4 separate regions of the Homo sapiens genome follow, and regions 1, 2 and 3 are each linked to region 4. Evidence: promoter capture Hi-C in human tissues and cell types (Jung and others, 2019). All regions are on one chromosome and are shown on one strand. The core of a region is centred on a gene start or on the middle of the fragment in contact, and the rest is flanking DNA. Distances in the headings are between cores, read along the strand shown. Region 1 overlaps TBC1D22B (TBC1 domain family member 22B). Region 2 overlaps MDGA1 (MAM domain containing glycosylphosphatidylinositol anchor 1). Region 3 overlaps MDGA1 (MAM domain containing glycosylphosphatidylinositol anchor 1). Region 4 holds the start of CCDC167 (coiled-coil domain containing 167).

Region 1 (3,320 bases), core at 672-3,171, 170 kb before region 4:
AGAGATCAAGACCATCCTGGCCAACATGGTGAAACCCAGTCTCCACTAAAAATGCAAAAATTAGCTGGGTGCAGTGGCGCGCACCTGTAATCTCAGCTACTCAGGAGGCTGAGGCAGGAGAATCGCTTGAACCTGGGAGTTGGAGGTTGCAGTGAGCCAAGATTGCTGCTGCACTCCAGCCTGGTGACAGAGTGAGACTGCGCCTCAAAAAAAAAAAAAAAAAAGTATTCTCTTCTAGAGAGCTATGTCCTTTGTTGGCTGTTCTTGTTTGTTATCAGTTTGCAAGTGTATGTAACCATCATAGAAAAATTTAGAAAATTCCAGTAAGAAATCTTAGGCTGGGCACAGTGGCTCACGCCTGTAATCCCAGCACTTTGGGAGGCCGAGGTGGGCAGATCCCGAGGTCAGGAGATTGAGATCATCCTGGCTTAACGGTGAAACCCCGTCTCTACTAAAAATAAAAAACAATTAACCAGGCATGGTGGCTCATGCCTGTAGTCCCAGCTACTCAGGAGGCTGAGGCAGTAGAATTGCTTGAACCTGGGAGGTGGAGGTGGTGGTGAGCCAAGATCATGCCACTGCACTCCAGCCTGGGTGACGGAGCGAGACTACGTCTCAAAAAAAAACAGAAAAAGAAATCTTACCACACAGAGGTGAATATCACAAATTTTAAAAAAATTGATTAGTATGCATTTTATTTTATGTATTAATATTTAAAACCATTATTCTGAGGAGATTGATGGGGTTCACCAGACAGCCCAAGAGTCTAAGGTACAGAAAAGACTGAGACCATTATAAAGAGAGCCTGCCTAACTTAGGATACAAGTGGTCTACCTGAGGAGAATGTTAGCAAAAAGAGGCAACACCTTTTCCAGTTGTTGTGGGATAGGGACATGGTGCGGGAAGGAGGTAGGAAGCAGCAGAGATGGGTAAAAGGGGCCAGAGGCCAGGGAGTACATGGTGGCATGGGGGTGGGGGCATGTAGTATGGTCCAAGGTCAACATTTTAAAAAATAAGTTGAGATAGGGCCGGGCGCGGTGGCTCGCGCCTGTAATCCCAGCACTTTGGGAGGCCGAGGCGGGCGGATCACGAGGTCAGGAGATCGAGACCATCCTGGCTAACACGGTGAAACCCCGTCTCTACTAAAAATGCAAAAAATTAGCCGGGCGTGGTGGTGGGCGCCTGTAGTCCCAGCTGCTCGGGAGGCTGAGGCAGGAGAATGGCGTGAACCCGGGAGGCGGAGCTTGCAGTGAGCCGAGATCGTGCCACTGCACTCCAGCCTGGGCGACAGAGCCAGACTCCGACTCAAAAAAAAAAAAAAAAAAAAAAAAAAAAATAAGTTGAGATAGAAATGATGGTTCTCTTTCAAACAAAACAAACAAAAAAAGCTTTGAGGCAGACAGGACTGAGGCCAGAATAGAACCAAGAGGGAATTACTCCTGTGAGAGGGGAATATTCCAAAGATGTTCCGATCAGCTAAAGGCAGAGTTTTTAAAAGCAGAGCATCTGCTGGCTTGAGTGAATATCAATAACTGGTTGAATAACTGGTCTGGTTGAGTGAATTTCCGTAATCATGTGACTGGAGGGGTTTGCCTGGAGGGTTGGAGAGAGCAGATGCCAGCAACCATGGAGGGGAGAGTGGGGACCTTGGGATGTGCACTCCTCCGGGGGTTCACCACCATCATGACGGCTTTGAGTTCTGTTCTTGGGCTTGGGGATCAAAGGGAAGACTTTGCATTAGCAAAGTTTGTTTTTTTTTTAAATGAGAATATTTAGTGCTGGTAGAGATCTAGGGAAATGGGCATTTTTCTGGAATATATTTTCTGGTTGAATGTTAAAGACCTTTAAAATGTTTGTGGTGGGCCAGGCGCGGTAGCTCATGCCTGTAATCCCAGCACTTTGGGAGGCTGAGGCGGGCGGATCACCTGAGGTCAGGAGTTCGAGACCAGCCTGGCCAACATGGTGAAACCCCATCTCTACTAAAAATACAAAAATTAGCCAAGTGTGATGGCTAATCCCAGCTACTCGGGAGGCTGAGGCAGGAGAATCGCTTGAACCTGGGAGGCGGAGGTTGCGGTGAACTGAGATTGTGCCACTGCGTTCCAGCCTGGGCAATAGAGCAAGACTCTGTCTCTAAATAAATAAATAGATAGATAGATAAAAATAAAATGTTTATGCCCTTTGAAATAGTAATTTCATTTCTAGGAATTTGGCTTAGGGAAATAATCCAAGATAAGGCTTTGTGCATAAAGATGTTCATTATAATTTTTTATAGTGAAAAACCAGAAATAATTAAATGCTCAAAACAGGAGGATGTAAATTCTGGTACATCTTACATCATGGAAAATTCTTTGGATATTGAAAATATCTACAAGGAATTTTTAATATTAGAGGAAATGCTTACGGTAAATGTTGCATAGATTCAAAATTATGTAGAGAAAATATTTCAAGTATGTAAAATATGTAGGAAAAGGACTGGAAGGAAATATGCCAAAATGTTTTAAAATGGCTTCCTCTTGATCGTGAAGTTATGGGTAATTTATTTTCTGTTTTTTTTTTACTTTTTAGTAAACAAAATTTCCACAGAGTAGCTTCACCCAGGCTGGAGTGTAATGGCGTGATCTCGGCTCACTGCAACCTCCGCCTCCCAGATTGAAGCAGTTCTCCTGCCTCAGCCTCCCAAGTAGCTGGGACTACAGGCGGCCACCACAATGCCTGGCTAATTTTTGTATTTTTAGTAGAGACGGGGTTTCACCATGTTGGCCAGGCTGGTCTCAAACTCCTTACCTCAAGTGATTGGCCCACTTCGGCCTCCCAAAGTGCTGGGATTACAGGCATGAGCCACTGCGCCCAGCCCAGAGTAGTTATTACTAAAAAAAAAAGTTATTTCATAACACAATAATACACAAATATTTTATAAGATACATAAATATAATGAGAGAAAAGTGAAAGGCTTCCCTCCCAAAGGGTAACCACTGTGAACAGTTTCCCACTTCTCTAAAATGTTTATGTGTACATGTACATATACAAATATATTGTTGTGTTTTTTCTTTTACCTAAGTGGGATCATACTGTAAATATTGTTCTGCAACTGCCTTTTTTATCCTTTCCAAAATGTCTTCTTTATCTTCATATACTGATACATGTAGACCGGCTTCGCTTGTTTCAAGTGCTGCCTTGCATCTCATGATGCAGATAATCCATGGTTTATCTCACCATTCCCATATTGCCAGACGCTTTTCTAGTATCCTTTCTCCACTATTTGAAGCAATGATGCAGTGAATACCTTTGTACACACAGTAGTGTGACTATTTCCCTAG
Region 2 (3,068 bases), core at 231-2,730, 130 kb after region 4:
CTCACATGTGTGCAAGCATACATGCACACTTGTGCACACACAGTCGCACACACTGCATGGGCATCAGATATAACACTAAATGTTAGTGTTTGTTGCTGGAGGTCGTGTTCTTCTCTTTGGAATTTCTGTTATTGAAAGCTTGGCTCGACATCCCCTCTGCCTTGCCCCTGGTAAACTCAACCCAATTCTTCCCCCTCGCCTCCCCCACTGCATGAGCATTTTTATTTGAATAAATCAGCAGGAAAAGATTTCAAGTTCAAAGCCCTTTCCCAGACTCTGTGATGTACAGTTATAAAAATAATGCTAAGAACAGAAAGTGACCTTTATTTCTAATCTATAGTCCTTGATGACTTCTGGCTTTTATTTTCTCGAGAAAATAGATTTTTTCCCCTGGTTATTAAAAAAATTATATGTTCATGAAAAAATATTCAGACAATACAGAAAGCCTAAAGATGTGAGTCAGAAGCATCTGAAATTTCACTGCTGAGATAACTACTATTCACATTCCAGTGAATAGTCTTTCGGACAAAAAAAAAATGCATATGCTCATATATACACAGATGTTATTACATAAAAAAGATAGTAACAGGCATGCGCTTTCTAATCTGCCATTCTCTCTCGACAATATATTATGGACATCTTTAAATGGCAGCACAGACTCCCACTGTGTGGACGTTCGGCACTCTCAGCCTCTCTGACTCATGTTTTACTCTATTTCTCACCGCCTCTCAGATGAGAGTGAACTGGCGGGTGGTTCTGGGGGAACGGCACGGGGGGTGACAGAGAGGGACTCTGCTTATGGAGGGTGGCGTATATAGATGGAATGAGGACTCACAGGGTGCTGAGTCTACTCTGCTGAACTGTGGCTGGCCCCAGGGGACCTGAGAAAAATGGGCAATTCAAAACATCTTTAGAGAAGGCCAAACAGCTAACAAGACAGGGCGATGGATGTGGTGGTGGGATTTGCATTCGGGGGCCCTGCCAAGTGGACCTCAGAACAGGAAACACGCTGGGCACGCACGGCCAGGAAAGATGAATTTGGGAGCGGGGGTTCAAGAAGCAGTATGGAAGGATGCCTCCACCCAGGTTTGGGGTGACTTCAAGGAGGAGAGTTTCGACTTTTTTCTTGTGTTTATTTATACCCAACCCTTTTCTGAAAAGGTGTTACAGTAGCTTTCAATAAAGGACATGCAAAAAGCTAGAAATAGAAAAGCAGGAACAGGGACGGTCTCCATCTGAAGCAGAGGACTGGAGCCCGAGCCTCACAGGGAAAGGCCTTGCTTCTCCCAGCCCCTGGGGAAGAGCTGGTGGGAAAAGCAGAGTGATCTCCAAGGAGAGGAAGAAGAGGAGGGACTCTGGCTGATGTGAACGCACATCGCACCAGAAGTCAAAAACCTAGATCTCCCTCTGGGTTCTTCCTCTCCTGAATTTTCTGAGCTAGGGTAACCACATCACCTTTCTGAGCCTCACTTTGCTCATCTGTGATATGAAAATAAAAATATTAGAGTCCTGGCTGGGTGCGGTGGCCCACGCCTGTAATTGCAACACTTTGGGAGGCTGAGGCGGGTGGATCACTTGAGGCCAGGAGTTTGAGACCAGCCTGGCCAACATGGTGAAGACCCACCTCTACTAAAAATACAGAAATTAGCTGGGTATGGTGGCACATGACTATAATCCCAGCTACTTGGGAGGCTGAGGCATGAGAATCACTTGAACCTGGGAGGTGGGGGTTTCAGTGAGCCAAGATTGTGTCATTGCAATCCAGCCTGGGTGACAGAGTGAGACCTTGTCTTAAAAAATAAATAAAAATAAGCTAAGTAAATTGGCTATGTTCTTTAACAATATATATGTCAAAGTCCTGATAACAGAGGACTCGGTTGCTGTAAGTTACCTGACCTACCTGTACAGTTTGCAATGGGACCTGCCCTTGGACAGGGCCACTTGGAGGACTTTCATGGTACATACACTGCATTACTGTGCCCCTGGGAATGAATGGTCACTAGAGGAGGGGAGAAAGAGGGAAGATGCAAGGAGGTGTGTTTTCGGTGCCTGCCAGCCTCCTGCCCCTCCTAAGTGGGTCCACCCACAAACTGCCTAGAAATGGCAGCCCCCAGGTAGCCTTGTTTCATGTCCATGACCCCTTCCTCCAGCCCAGCTGGTTGGATCAGGGTGGCATCTGACTCAAGGGCAGCCAACCCACAGGTTGCCCAATGATGTATGTGTGGCTAGACCTGAAATGGGGGCCTGTCCAATCAGCCCATTATCCTGAGCGGCTGAGTCAGTGAATGCTGGCAGCTGCTACCGGAAGGCCATGAAGGAGAGTTGAGCTGGAGAGGTCATGATGCCTGGAAAGCTGAAGTTATGAGGAAGCAGACACCATGACTCAGGAGAGGAACTGCATGGACAAAAAGCAGCAGATGCTGGGGAGTGACTGAGTCATGCCAGGGTGGTCATCTATTGCTGTTGTCAAAAACTACTCCCAACCGCAGGGGCTTAAAACAACTATTTTATTATATCCCATGACGATGGGTCAGGAATTTGGACAGAGCTTGGCCGAGCAATTCAGGTGGCAGTTAGGCTGGTCTGGAAGGTCTGAGGCAGCTGCACTCCCATATCTTCTGGTGCTTTGGTGGAGATGGCTGGAAGGCTGGACTCAGCTGGGATGGTCAGCCAGAGCCCCTCCAGCATGACGGTCTCAGAGCAACTCAGAGGACATCCTAGGTGGCAGTTCAGGGCTTCCAGAGAGAACGTTCCAAGAGGCCTGAGCTGAAGCTCCAAGGCATCTTCAACTCAGCATGTCACATTCTATTGCACAAACAAGGCACTAAGAGCAACCCAGATTCAAGAGGAAGGGAATTAGACTCTGCCTCTCTACAGGAAGGATAACATGGGATTTGCAGCCATCTTTATTCTACCACAGGTAGAATACAGAAGCACCAGAAGAATACAGAAGCACCAGAAACTTCTGTAGATGATGATCCTAGAGCTACCTTGAATCCAAAATGCCCATCTGGTTCAGGAAAACCATCCCTGTTGCAACTCCTGTTTGGATTTCTGAGTGCCCATCC
Region 3 (3,143 bases), core at 100-2,599, 170 kb after region 4:
TAAAGAAACTCATGTAAAGTGTTTAAAACAGTGCCTGGTACGCAGTATGCAATCTAAAAATGTCAGCCAGCATTATTATTCTATAAATGATCCTGCACTCCTCTCAAGAATTCACATCCCCTGCAGCCTGCAAGCCGTTTGCATGAAAGGACCCTGCCTTCTCTGTCACAGATGATGAGGGTTGGTACCTTCCTGGGGTCCACTGTATATTTCCAAGCTCCTTGCCTCAGTTCTGCGAAGCAGAAAGGGAAAGTCATATTTAGCTCCATTGGCAGAGAAGGAGACCAATGCCTGGAAGAGGAACCGTCTTGTCCAAGTCACTCACTGAGACAGCAGCACAGCCGAGACTCAAACCCAGGCCTTCCACCTGCTAACTTGGGACTCTGTTCATTGTCCCCAGGAATTTCAGAGGCATGGCTGGATTTGATCATCTTTGCTTGACACCATATTAGTGGATAGAAAACTGAACAGCATTTCAGAACCAAGTGTGCTTCCTTGCCTCTGGTCTATGACACTTTCCTATTTTACTCTCCTGATTTCTATCAACAAAACCCCATGGAAAAGGAAAACAGCCTCTGCCAACCTGTGTGCCACAGAGTGTTCACTGATAGTCCATCACAGACGATTTTCACTGTCAATTAAGGATGCTGCATGTTCTTTCTCTCGCCCTCTCTGAGAAAGACTTAGCACACAAAGTATATTATTGAAGGCTCTGAAAAGTCCTGCAGTAAACACATCTGTGTAACTTGGTTTAACTCAGTGCTTTCTAAACGTATTGGCCATAAACCCCCTTCTTCGCAGAGCACAACATCCTGAGAGACAGCAATGTTCTGTAAAATTAGTGGAGAAAAGCTTAATACAAAACTGACAGCTGAGGGGTTAACATGCCCCTCCCCAGTCCCTTAGTTAAGAACAGCCAAGTGGCCTGAGACATGTCACCCTTGGGGCAGCATCCTAATGAGCACAGCCGAGGCAGAATGCTGCTGGCCTATCAGCTTACTCTTTTCCTCCCCAAAAATTATACACCCAAAATGTATAGTTATGGGTAGGGGCTTCCAGCACCCAGTAGGCCCAGTGAGGAAGCCACAAACTCTCAGGGAGTCAGACTAAGACAAACTCCAACCTGCCAACTAAGGGTCCAAAGAGAATTCTCACTGTAATGGGGGAATTTCATCAAAGACCCCCATCCCCCATAAGAGAATCCATGCCCAGCTGCTATAGCCACAGGTAGGGGTGCTATAAAATGCATGTGGATACAACACTAGGGTGAGGGCCAAACAAGACAGACAGCAAGACAAATGGAAAACCTTGATTAAAAGCACCTTCAGGCCTATAATCCCAGCACTTTGGGAGGCCAACGTAGGAGGATCACTTGAGCTCAGGAGTTCGAGACCAGCCTGGGCAACATGGTGAAACCCCATCTCTACCAAAAATATAAAAACTTAGCCAGCATGGTGGTGCACACCTGTGTTCCCAGTTACTCGGGAGGCTGAGGTGGGAGAATGGCTTGAGCTCAGGAGGTGGAGACTGCAGTGAGCTGAGATCATATCACTGCACTCCAACCTGGGTGACAGAGTGAGACTCCATCTAAAAAAAAGAAAAAAAAAAAGTTCCTTCAGGCCGGGCACAGTGCCTCATGCTTGTAATCCCAACATTTTGGGAAGCTGAGGCAGGAGAATTGCCTGAGGCTAGGGGTTCAAGACCAGCCTGGGCATCATAGCAAGACCCCATCTCTAAAAAAAAAAAATTTTAATGAGCTGGGCATGGTGCCACATGCCTGTAATCCTAGCTAAGAGGGAGGATTGCTTGAGCTCAGGAGATCGAGGCTGCAGTGAGCCATGATTGCACACTGCACTCCAGCCTGGGCGACAGAGCAAGACCCCTATCAAAAAAACAAAAGCTCAGCCAATAATCAATGAAGAGGACTGTTGCCCTCTTCCTGCTTCTGGCTCCTTCAGGGAAAGAGTCTGCAGGCTGGGAAATGACCAAAGAACAGGGTGAGGAAGGGGCAAGGAGACAAAAGGAGAAGGAGTGGCTGCAAAATTCCCCGCCCAGAGTTGGTTCTATCTGCCCACAGATGACAGAGCAGGTGCCACCACCCCAGCCACCTCCCAGAAGCATCACTGAGTGTTCTGGATGGAGTGGTACAGAATTGGGATCTGTGTTCTGGTCCTGGCTTCCATCAGACAGTCATTCAACAAGCCCTTATCAGTATGAGGTGCTAAGCTTGGTTCTGAGGTAACAGAGAGCTGTGGCACTCAGGCTCTGCACTAGGGAAGCAGTAGCTAGAAAAGCTGAATAAGAACGATGCTTATAAAGGCCCACTGAGAGGCAGAGAGGGAGCAGGGAGGGATTGCTGTGAACTAGAGACTAGTGCTGTCTCAGGTCTCCCCCCACCCCCCATCCCCATAATATAACATTAACTGCAATAGCTACCCTTTATTGACATTTACTCTGCCAGCAATATATTCAGTGCTTTATATCTTTTATCATATTTATTGCTCCTAACAAGCCTACTATGGTTCGGACTTTTCAGATGAGGAAGCTGAGGTTCAGCGAGGTTATATAAGTTACCCAAGGACACCCCATTGGTCTGGAGTCTGTCTGACTCTCCGTCTTTCATGCTAACCGCCATGCATTTCCACTTCGCAAGTGCCTAGCCCAGTGCAGGGCTCACAGCTCAGCACGGAGCCTCCACATTCCTGGTGGGACCGATGCTGTGCAGCATCCTCAGAAACCGTCCCTCCCTCGCCGTGACACCTCTCGCCCTCCCAGATCCTGGTATGCAAGTGTTTATTGATCCTTTTATGCATGTAATGCAAATGAACACTTAATAATTTAGTGGAGTTAATAGTGCTGAAATATTAACAGGCTTTTCTCTTTTAATTAGCTGCTCAGAGAATGGCGGTCGGGGGCCTGGGAGGAGGCTTTCCTGGGCAGGCACCTGGCCTGCTCCGCCTGGGCCTCCTTCTGCCAGGGATGATGTTCCAAGCCTCTCTACAGACTGTGAGCCATCAAGCGTGGGCCTCTTGGGAAAATTAGCCCTGCCCTTCTGTGCTCACTGCATCGGGAGTTGCTCTGCCCTTACCACAGCCCCGCTCTCTGCAGAGCTGGCTGGAGCCTGTCCTCTGTTCACCACCAGC
Region 4 (2,931 bases), core at 153-2,652:
TCACCATGGGGTGTGTGTGGCTTGTAAAAAAAAAAAAAATGCAGATTCTGGCCGGCTGTGGTGGCTCATGCCTGTAATCCCAGCACTTTGGGAGGCTAAGGCGGGCGGGCAGATCACTTGAGGTCAAGAGTTCAAGACCAGCCTGGCCAACACGGTGAAACCCCGTCTCTACAAAAATACAAAAATTAGCCAGGCATGGTGGCACGTGCCTGTAATCCCAGCTACTCGGGAGGCTGAGGCACGAGAATCGCTTGAACCCAGAAGGCAGAGTTTACAGTGAGCCGAGATCACGCCACTGCACTTCAGCCTGGACAACAGAGCGAGACTCTGTCTTAAAAAAAAAAAAGCAGATTCCTTGTTAAGAATGCACATCAAAGTCCTACTGAATTACTCGGGGTGTGGGAAGAGTTCAACTCTCCATTTTTAACAAGCCCTGTGACTCTATGCATGCTAAAGTTTGAGAATCACTGAACTCACTAGTAAGCCTGAAGAAGACTATGACCCTGTACCTCTCCTGCAACCTCCGGGAGGATGCCCTAAGGGAAGGAAAACAGGGGAAGCAAGATGAATTTCCAGGAAGACCACCTGTGCTTGATTCCCAGGCTCCACCACTTCCACCATCTCAGCCTGGGTTCCACCTGGAACCTCAATTTCCTCATCTGTACAAACCTCACAGGCTTGCAGTGAGGATTAACAATGCAATGAAAGTAGCACATAGCGGTTGCTCAGTATGTATGTTTTCTTTCCCTTCTATATGCAGCAAATTATTTTTAAGCCATTCAGTGACATCACCAATTCCAGAATTCTCTTTACATATTCCCAAAGTAATTTTGAAGGTACAAGCTTCCATACTCCGGAGGAAAAATTTCCCCTTTTAGAGGATATTTAAACCATTAATAATATACACCAGAATGGGCTCCCTCATCTTTGAGTCCTAGCCCTTTGGGAGTTCTCCTTAGATTCTACAGGTCCCTATTTCTCTGGGGTCTCCCTCACCTCTGTACCCATCCCTTTTGTTCTGTGTCCCCCGCTTTGAGTTCCCTCACTTCTATGCCAGGCCGTCTTTGGGGCTCCCCTTCACTTCCATGTCTCTTCCTCTCTGGAGATGCCCTCTCCAGAGAGTCTGGTTCGCCCATCCGGCACCTCCTCGGGCTCCCTGTCCTCCGGGAACCCCGTGGGCCTTCTCACCCCTCCCGTCCCTCTCCCCAAACCGCGTCGCCCTCTCATCCTACGCTTGGCTCCTCCTCCTATCTATAGCCCAGCCTATCCCTTATCCCGCGGCCAGGAGAAGGCAACTAACGAGGTGGCCCAACCCCCACTTTTCCCCTCACCTCTAGAGCGACGCCCAGATTCTCCCGCTTCTTTTTAGTCATGTTACTTGCCGGGATCCCCCAGTCATCACTGGACGCGCCCACCAAGTCGCTATGTGCGCATGCTCAAGTCTTCGTGCTTCTCCCTCATTGGCCACCGAGTCAGCGGGAGGTGGGGCTGCTGCCGTCGCCATCTTGTTGAGGGGCGCGGCCGGCTTGGTGCGGACATGTTTATGAGGGGCAACCTCTAGCTTGAGACCTCAGCCTAGATGGGTGGAGGGTGGAAAAGTCGGTACAGGGAGGCAGAATGTACAGCCCGGGAGTAGACCTGCCCCTTTCTTCCCCAGTTTTAAGCCGCTTTGCATCACTGAGAGCCTTTTTTAACCCCATGTTCTCTTTCAGTGTGTTTTGTGTTTCAGCAACAACCCCGTCCCTGTTTAGGCCACGCCCCCCATTCAAAGTCTGTCCATCCTTCAAGGCCGGTGCTGGAGCCTTGAGCTTCTCGGCCAATGGAATCTGATAATGGCCCTCTATTGTTATTTCTCCTTTGTGTCTTGACTTCTTTTTTTTTTTTTTTTTGGTTTGTTTTATTGTAAGAACAACCTACAAACATCACAGAAAACATATAACTGAGAAGCAGCATCCTTTATTCTACCAACTTTATCAGTTCCTCTTTGCTTCTGTTTATTCCTCCCAGGCTTGGCCTCACACACAGTATTTTACATTGTTGTAATCGTACTATACTGTACACCATAGACCCACGGCCTTTGAAATGTTTTGACTGTGACCCTACGATAAAAAAATGTATTTTATACCATGGCCCAGTTACCCATGAAACCAAAACCAAAGTTTCACAGTAAGTACCTTTACCTCCTGTAATGCACTCTGTTATTTTGTATTCTTGCCTATTTAATTAAAAAAAAACAAAGTCGGGCACGGTGGCTCAGGCCTGTAATCCTGTGTCTGGAGTTGGTTCCTTCAGGTGGGTTCTTGGTCTCACTGACTTCACGGTGAGTGTTACAGCTCTTAAAGGTAGCACGGACCCAGAGAGTGAGCAGCAGCAGGATTTATTGTGAAGAGCAAAAGAACAAAGCTCCCACATCATGGAAGGGGACCTGAGTGGGTTGCCACTGTTGACTGGGGGATGGCCAGCTTTTATTCCCTTATTTGTCCCCTGTTACAGAGCACTGACTGGTCCATTTTACAGAGTGCTGATTGGTGCATTTACAGTCCTTTAGCTAGACACAGAGTGCTGATTGGTGCATTTTTACAGAGTGCAGATTGGTGCATTTACAATCCTTTAGCTAGACACAGAGCGCTGATTGGTGCGTTTTTACAGAGCACTGACTGGTGCATTTACAATCCCTAGGTAGACACAGAGTGCTTATTGGTGCATTATAATCCTTTAGCTAGACACAGAGCGCTGATTGGTGGGTTTTTACAGAGTGCTGATTGGCGCATTTACAATCCTTTAGCTAGACACAGAACGCTGATTGGTGCGTTTACAATTGTCTAGCTAGACAGAAAAGTTCTCCAAGTCCCCACTCAACCCAGGAAGTCCAGCTGGCTTTACCTCTCAATCCCAGCACTTTGGGAGGCTGGGCAGATCACGAGGTCAGTA

The links. Contacts are between HindIII fragments. The study calls those that stand out against the background at their distance.
Region 1: a contact is called between a fragment that was not itself captured here and the fragment with the promoter of CCDC167 in region 4, in 2 of the 25 tissues and cell types used here (IMR-90 fibroblasts and hippocampus).
Region 2: a fragment that was not itself captured here is called in contact with the fragment with the promoter of CCDC167 in region 4 in 1 of the 25 tissues and cell types used here (liver).
Region 3: a contact is called between a fragment that was not itself captured here and the fragment with the promoter of CCDC167 in region 4, in 6 of the 25 tissues and cell types used here (IMR-90 fibroblasts, dorsolateral prefrontal cortex, hippocampus and 3 more).

What each region holds. Positions count from the first base shown.
Region 1 is chr6:37,326,171-37,329,490 of GRCh38, forward strand. All of the region lies in intron 12 of TBC1D22B (TBC1 domain family member 22B), which reads left to right. Among named protein-coding and RNA genes, the nearest start is that of RNF8, 26 kb to the right of the region's middle. The HindIII fragment of the contact is 6,836 bases long and covers 1-3,320 here.
Region 2 is chr6:37,628,186-37,631,253 of GRCh38, forward strand. MDGA1 (MAM domain containing glycosylphosphatidylinositol anchor 1) reads right to left here. Exons shown (of 17, transcript NM_153487.4): 17 at 2,494-3,068. Among named protein-coding and RNA genes, the nearest start is that of MDGA1, 68 kb to the right of the region's middle. The HindIII fragment of the contact is 8,275 bases long and covers 1-3,068 here.
Region 3 is chr6:37,670,551-37,673,693 of GRCh38, forward strand. All of the region lies in intron 1 of MDGA1 (MAM domain containing glycosylphosphatidylinositol anchor 1), which reads right to left. Among named protein-coding and RNA genes, the nearest start is that of MDGA1, 26 kb to the right of the region's middle. The HindIII fragment of the contact is 4,624 bases long and covers 1-3,143 here.
Region 4 is chr6:37,498,491-37,501,421 of GRCh38, forward strand. It overlaps CCDC167 (coiled-coil domain containing 167), which reads right to left and starts at 1,403. Exons shown (of 4, transcript NM_138493.3): 1 at 1,332-1,403. The coding sequence starts at 1,373. RefSeq lists an enhancer at 1,396-1,595. The HindIII fragment of the contact is 4,936 bases long and covers 1-2,931 here.